Regions from separate parts of the Homo sapiens genome. Here region 1 is linked to region 2. The links are contacts of gene promoters, found by promoter capture Hi-C in human tissues and cell types (Jung and others, 2019). All regions are on one chromosome and are shown on one strand. Each heading gives the region's core, a stretch centred on a gene start or on the middle of the fragment in contact. The rest is flanking DNA. Distances are from core to core; before and after follow the strand shown. Region 1 overlaps PBRM1 (polybromo 1). Region 2 holds the start of GLT8D1 (glycosyltransferase 8 domain containing 1).

What was found. The method cuts DNA at HindIII sites, captures the fragments that hold promoters and counts their contacts. A contact is called where the count stands out against the background at its distance.
Region 1: a fragment that was not itself captured here is called in contact with the fragment with the promoter of GLT8D1 in region 2 in 1 of the 25 tissues and cell types used here (mesendoderm cells).

Annotation. Positions count from the first base shown.
Region 1 is chr3:52,553,507-52,556,563 of GRCh38, reverse strand. It overlaps PBRM1 (polybromo 1), which reads left to right. Exons shown (of 32, transcript NM_001405607.1): 29 at 1,685-1,840. Among named protein-coding and RNA genes, the nearest start is that of UQCC5, 18 kb to the right of the region's middle. The HindIII fragment of the contact is 6,956 bases long and covers 1-3,057 here.
Region 2 is chr3:52,704,238-52,707,400 of GRCh38, reverse strand. It overlaps GLT8D1 (glycosyltransferase 8 domain containing 1), which reads left to right and starts at 1,610. Exons shown (of 10, transcript NM_018446.4): 1 at 1,610-1,954. SPCS1 (signal peptidase complex subunit 1) reads right to left here and starts at 1,295. Exons shown (of 4, transcript NM_014041.5): 1 at 1,119-1,295; 2 at 698-757; 3 at 522-608. The coding sequence starts at 1,154. RefSeq lists a silencer at 1,714-1,883. The HindIII fragment of the contact is 20,736 bases long and covers 1-3,163 here.

The DNA.
Region 1 (3,057 bases), core at 61-2,560, 150 kb after region 2:
TTCAGTTCTTAATAATTTCCTCAACCACAGCCCATGAAGGCTGCGTTCAGATGGGCTTTTGTAATTGAAAGCAAAGCCTCTTAACATCCTTAAATTTCCCGCCTACTTAACCCTAAATGCTATAACTGGTGGTGTGGTTAAAAGATTGGTAGCATTGGATCTCTTCATGTTTAATTAAGATGATGGTGTCTGTTCAAAAGTAGTTTTTACTTTCTGAACTCTTCATTTAAAAAAAAATGAAAACTCATAATCTTATGTATAGAGAGATTATTATTCAAATTTTTGTCATTCGGTTTATGTAATTGTAAGTTAGTCAGCTTAGGTATGACTAGTGAAGCAGGGTGAATCGACCTCAGAATTTTTAGTAATTTCATAGCCTTAAAAGACTAAACTTTTATAAATAAATATGTTTGAAATCTTCAGGGAAAGTCCAAGAGTAAAATTCTCAGAATCTGAAGTTTTCCACTATTTGACAGAGTCCCTCTGCAAAGAGTATTTTATAAAAATGAGGTTTGGCACCAGTCCCTCAACCCTCCCTTTGCAAGAAGCTGTGACCAAAGGTGACTGCATTTTGGGGGGAGCTTTGTGTTCTTATTCATCATGATCATTACAAATCCCAGAAAAGTCAAGTTGTTTTTCTTGTTTTAAAAAAATGCCATGTGGTTTTAAAGGTCTTTTGATAGGTGAGTCCTTGACATTTTGAATTTTTTTTCTTACATTTATTCCTTCTGCCAAAAATACTTGTTTGCTGAAACTCTTCTCTAGCCAGTAGAAAATATTTTGTCATGTGTAGGTACACTTTGAAAATAAAGGAATAAAAGCCTCTGTTCACAGAAATTGTGTACCTCAAATTAAAATGCTCCCTGTTAAGGTTTATATGAGGACATTTGAGCTTGGAGACTGATGGCATTTGGCATTTTCTCATATCAGCAGAGCCCAATTCTCCAGCCATTCCTCCGTAAAGTCTGTGTGTAGGCTCCTGAGTGACCTGGACTTGGTTGGCTTGGTTGGGAGTGTTTAGGTTTTATCTTTATCACATTTTTAGATCTAAAGAAGGAAATATCATTCACTGTGATGGTTCTTAGAAGCTGTTCCCCAACTCAAGCCCAAGCACAATCCATTCTTACCAGCAGTGGTAAGGCTAGAAAGGAGGAGTAGATGTAGAAGTCTTGAACAATTCCTGCCCCAAAGCTGGAGAACCATGCTTTGTGATCAGGACTATGCGCTCATTTCCCTCCCTTCCTATTTCCCCTCATGTGTACCCATGATAGGCATATGAGTGTGGGCAGAGTGGAATGATGGGGTTTATACTATTCAGTTAGAATTGCAGTCAGCAGAACTGGTCACTCTGTTTGAACAGCTTGCAATAATTATTTCCTTGGGAAGGCTGTTACTAGAACTCTTTACTATTATTTAACTGAAAACATGCAGCATATTTACCCCAGGGAAAATAACTACAAATAATAGTGTACTAAGTACTAATTCATCCCAAAATGTTGGGTCTCATATTTGTAACTTTTTATTTTGTTCATTATTGCAGCAAAATAATTGCACTAATTGCTGTTATATCATGCAGTACTAAGGGTGCTTTATTCATTGGTAGTGCATGTGGGGGTTGGTTGTTATTACTTAGCTCATGTTGCATGTTAATGATGCATGTCTGAAATTTGTTGTGTCCTTCAAGGCATGATGGGTGGCTATCCGCCAGGCCTTCCACCTTTGCAGGGCCCAGTTGATGGCCTTGTTAGCATGGGCAGCATGCAGCCACTTCACCCTGGGGGGCCTCCACCCCACCATCTTCCGCCAGGTGTGCCTGGCCTCCCGGGCATCCCACCACCGGGTAAGAACTTCATCCTCATTCACTCATTAATCTCATCTTCATATTCTCTTTTTCCGCTTTCAACCAGTTGTTCCAGGAGGCACCCGTGGCCCATTGTGGCCAGGCCTTCCCTCCCTGAGAATCCAAAGGTTGTCAGCAGCAGGGCATGTCTTGTGCATTCAGCAGGTGGCCCAGCACTTGTGCCCTTGTGCACCTGGCTGCTGGCAGCAGCACAGCACACATGGCAGAGGCCAGACTCAGCAAACCAAGGGACAAGAGGCATACTCTATCGATAATCACTCAACTAATTTGACATGTCCTTGAAAAGCCAGACAGCCTAGAAGGCTGTGTCCTCTTATCAGTGAATGAAGTTTCCCAAATTGCTAGTTCAGAGTAACATGTAAAAGCATTTTTTGCCCCTGAGTTGCATTTCTCCCTCTGGTGCAATTCTTATCTCACAGGGTATAGAGTATCTGTTCCATCTCCTACTTCTCCTCAAGCAGCCTTTCTAAGGGGATTGCAGAGCTGCTAAGGTAGAACTCTTCAGAAATCTTTCACTCAGTCTGTCTTAGAACAAAAAGCAGGGAGGGAATGCATTTTCACTGAATTAGTGTTCTGTATGTGAGTTCCCTAAGAAGCATGACATGCCAGGTGTAATGGCTCATGCCTGTAATCCCAGCACTTTCAGAGAATGAGGAAGGTGGATCACTTGAGCCCAGGAGTTCAAGACCAGCCTGGGCAACCTGGTGAGACCCCATCTCTATAAAAATTAGCCAGGTGTTAGGCCGGGCACGATGGCTCATGCCTGTAATCCCAGCACTTTGGGAGGCCGAGGTGGGCGGATCACTTGAGGTCAGGAGTTCGAGACCAGCCTGGCCAATATGGTGAAACACCGTCTTTACTAAAAATACAAAAATTAGCTGGGCGTGGTGGCGGGCACCTGTAGTCCCAGCTACTCGAGAGGCTGAGGCAGAAGAATCACTTGAACCTGGGAGGCAGAGGTTGCAGTGAGCCGAGATTGCACCACTACACTCCAGCCTGGGCGACAGCAAGACTCCGTGTCAAAAAAAAAAAAAAAAAAGGAAAAATTAGCCAGGTGTGGTGGCATGTGCCTGTAGTCCCAGCTACTCAGGAGGCTGAGGTGGGAGAATTACCTGAGCCTGGGGAGACTGAGGCTGCAGTGAGTGGTGATCGCACCACTGCACTCCAGCCTGAGCGACAGAATGAGATCCTGTCTC
Region 2 (3,163 bases), core at 361-2,860:
GCGGATTGCTTGAGACCAGCCTGGCCAACACAGTGAAGCCCTGTCTTTACTAAAAATACAAAAATTAGCTGGGTGTGGTGGTGGGCTCCTGTAGTCACAGCTACTCGGGAGGCTGAGGCAGGAAAATCTATTAAACCCGGGAGGCAGAAGGTGCAGTGAGCCGAAATCGCCCCAGTGCACTGCAGCCTGGGCAACAAGAGTGAAACTCCGTCTCAAAAAATTTAAATAAATAAATAAATAAAAGGTGAAGGGACAACGTGAGCACCATGAAAACTCCTGCTGGCTTTGACCTTAAGATTATTAGCCAGAGTAGCCGCCAAAGGAAATAAGCTGTGTCCTTTTATATAGTTCGCACCATCTGACACTATTTTGGCATTCTACTTTTCCAATGATAGCAAAGGGAAACGCTGTTTGGAAGGATGAGGGAAACGTTGGCTTTGGGTCTCACTACTGAGTAGGTCTAACCAAACCAACCCGACTCACAAAACCCAAGCTGCCACTAATACCCACAAATTTCTTACCAAACATGAAAAAGCAAATCCGGCCATAACTATATAGACAGTCCACCCGAACTGTTCAGCCACGTACCCGTAGATAAATCCAACTATCTAGAGACAAATGAAGTATATTAAACACACTCAAACTGAGGGTTGGGAGGGAGGCGGGGGCGGAGATTAAATGTAAAACCAATACTTACTGCAGAAAAAAGAATAATTCCCTGAAACATCTGTTCAGCTAGCTTCTGGCCCTTGTAATCCTGGGGTGAAGCAGAGGAAAAAAAGAATTGGTTCCACCGCCGAGAACATACAATTCCTGCCCTGACCTCACAACTCTGGCACAGGGTAACCCCAACATCAGGGTCTCCCGCTCTCCTAAGGGCCTGGGCAAGATATTAAATTCTGGGCTTCCCGGGAGGAACTGAAACACCCTCACGGAGAATGGACAGGAGATTCTCGCGGAGTAGAAGAGAAGGGGACCCAGGAGGCAATTCGGGAAAGAGGGTGGACGGTAACCATCCGGGCCCGGAACAGCGCAGCACCGGGTCGGTGCTCCAACATGGGCTTCGAAGCTGCCAGGCACAAGAACGGCGTGCAGAGGTCCCCGGGTTGCGCCCTCACCATCTGCGTGGGCAGCGAGCTCAGATGCTCCAGCATGGCTGGCTGAGGAGGCGGGCAGCTGAGCGCGGGTGGCAGGCTGCGAGGCGAGGGCGACCGAGACTTAAGGACCGTGAGGGGTAAGGTCTGGCACTGCGCGTCAGTAGCCGGGCCTTCTAAGCCCGGGAGAGCGATGGCGGCGGCCCCGGAAGCGGAAGTCTCCGACGGGCCGGTACAGCCCGTGTCCCCGCCCCGCGCCATCGCTAGGCGACGTGCGCTTTTGCCGCGCCGTGCTGCCCGCGAGGGCAGCTGAGGTGGTGGTGGCGGCCGCCTTGTCGAGGCATCGCGCGCCCGTGAAGTGTTCGCCGTCAGTGCTGTTGGGTGCCTGGAGCCGCGTCCCCCGTCCCGAAAACTGTCCTTGACAGTACTTGCGCGGCCCAACGGCCGCCGGCGCCCCCGCGTCTCCATGGCGACGGCCTTTTTCCCTGCGAGGACCCCGGCGGCAGGGCTGCCCCGCGGCGCCTGCTTGGCGCGACGCTCTAGCGGTTACCGCTGCGGGCTGGCTGGGCGTAGTGGGGCTGCGCGGCTGCCACGGAGCTAGAGGGCAAGTGTGCTCGGCCCAGCGTGCAGGGAACGCGGGCGGCCAGACAACGGGCTGGGCTCCGGGGCCTGCGGCGCGGGCGCTGAGCTGGCAGGGCGGGTCGGGGCGCGGGCTGCATCCGCATCTCCTCCATCGCCTGCAGTAAGGGCGGCCGCGGCGAGCCTTTGAGGGGAACGACTTGTCGGAGCCCTAACCAGGGGTATCTCTGAGCCTGGTGGGATCCCCGGAGCGTCACATCACTTTCCGATCACTTCAAAGTGTAAGGGGGGCCCTACTGACCCTTGGAATTTAGGGGGGCTACCCTAGGCGGCATCCACAACAGAGAGAATTCCCTTGGAGAGGGGACCCTGGTGCTCGGCTGTCCCTCTCATCCGCGTAGAAAGTCCCTCATCTGGGGGCTCCCGAACTCAGCCCTCTCACATTGTGGCCGGCTTTACTGACCCTCACAGACCCAGGCTGGGCCCTCCCGATAGAGGCCAGCCAAAGGTTCACTCAGCCTCTCTTTCAAGGCTGGTGTATCTCTAAATCTTAGACCCTCCTCCGTTACCGTCAGCCAGGTGGGATGCCCACGTTTTGGAGAGAAACCGTTCTGAGGAACCCGGGCCTCTGGGTCCCAGCTGGCTCTCCGGCCCCCAGGTTATGTATTCTGGGTTGGCCACAAACAGTGGAATTCTAGGCACTCCCGGGACAGGGTGGGACTGCTGTCCTCATTCATGCAACCAGCAAATATTCACGGCACCTTGTTTGTGCCAGACAGCAGACCGAGGACACGGTTGTTACCAAGACCAGGCTGTTGCCTTGGAAGAGCCCAGAGCGTGTCAAGGGAGACAGCCACATCACGCCAGAAATACATGACAGCTGGATTAGCCCTGGGAGAGGGAGGCCCAGATGTGGGAGCTCAGGGGAGGTGCAGCTCAACGTGGAGTTTGGAGGAGGCTACCTTGACCTTTGAATGCCAAGTGGGAGCCAGCCAGATGAAAGGGTAGGAGAAAGTGTTTGTATATCCTCAGTGCCCTTTCATCCTTGCACGTGGCAGAGACCAAACAGTAAAATGCAGACACGTTTGACACTTTTCTGACCTCAGAAGGACTCAGGACGTGTAGAAGGCAGAAAGAGGGATGGGCAAGAGTTTATTCCTGTTTCCTTCTCATGCTCTGTATTTCTTGGTGTGTTTGAAGAGACTTTCTGTTGTGTGTATAAATAGATATATCTCTGTGTGGTCTTTTTTTTTTTTTTTTTTTTTTTTTGAGGCGAAGACTCGCTCTGTTGCCCAGGCTGGAGTGCAGTGGTGCGATCGCGGCTCACTGCAACCTCCGCCTCCTGGGTTCAAGGGATTGTCCTGCCTCAGCCTTCTGAGTAGCTGGGATTACAGGCATGCGCCACCACGCCCGGCTAATTTTTGTGATTTTAGTGGAGACGGGGTTTCACTGTGTTGGCCAGACTAGTCTCAAACGCCTGACCTCAAGTG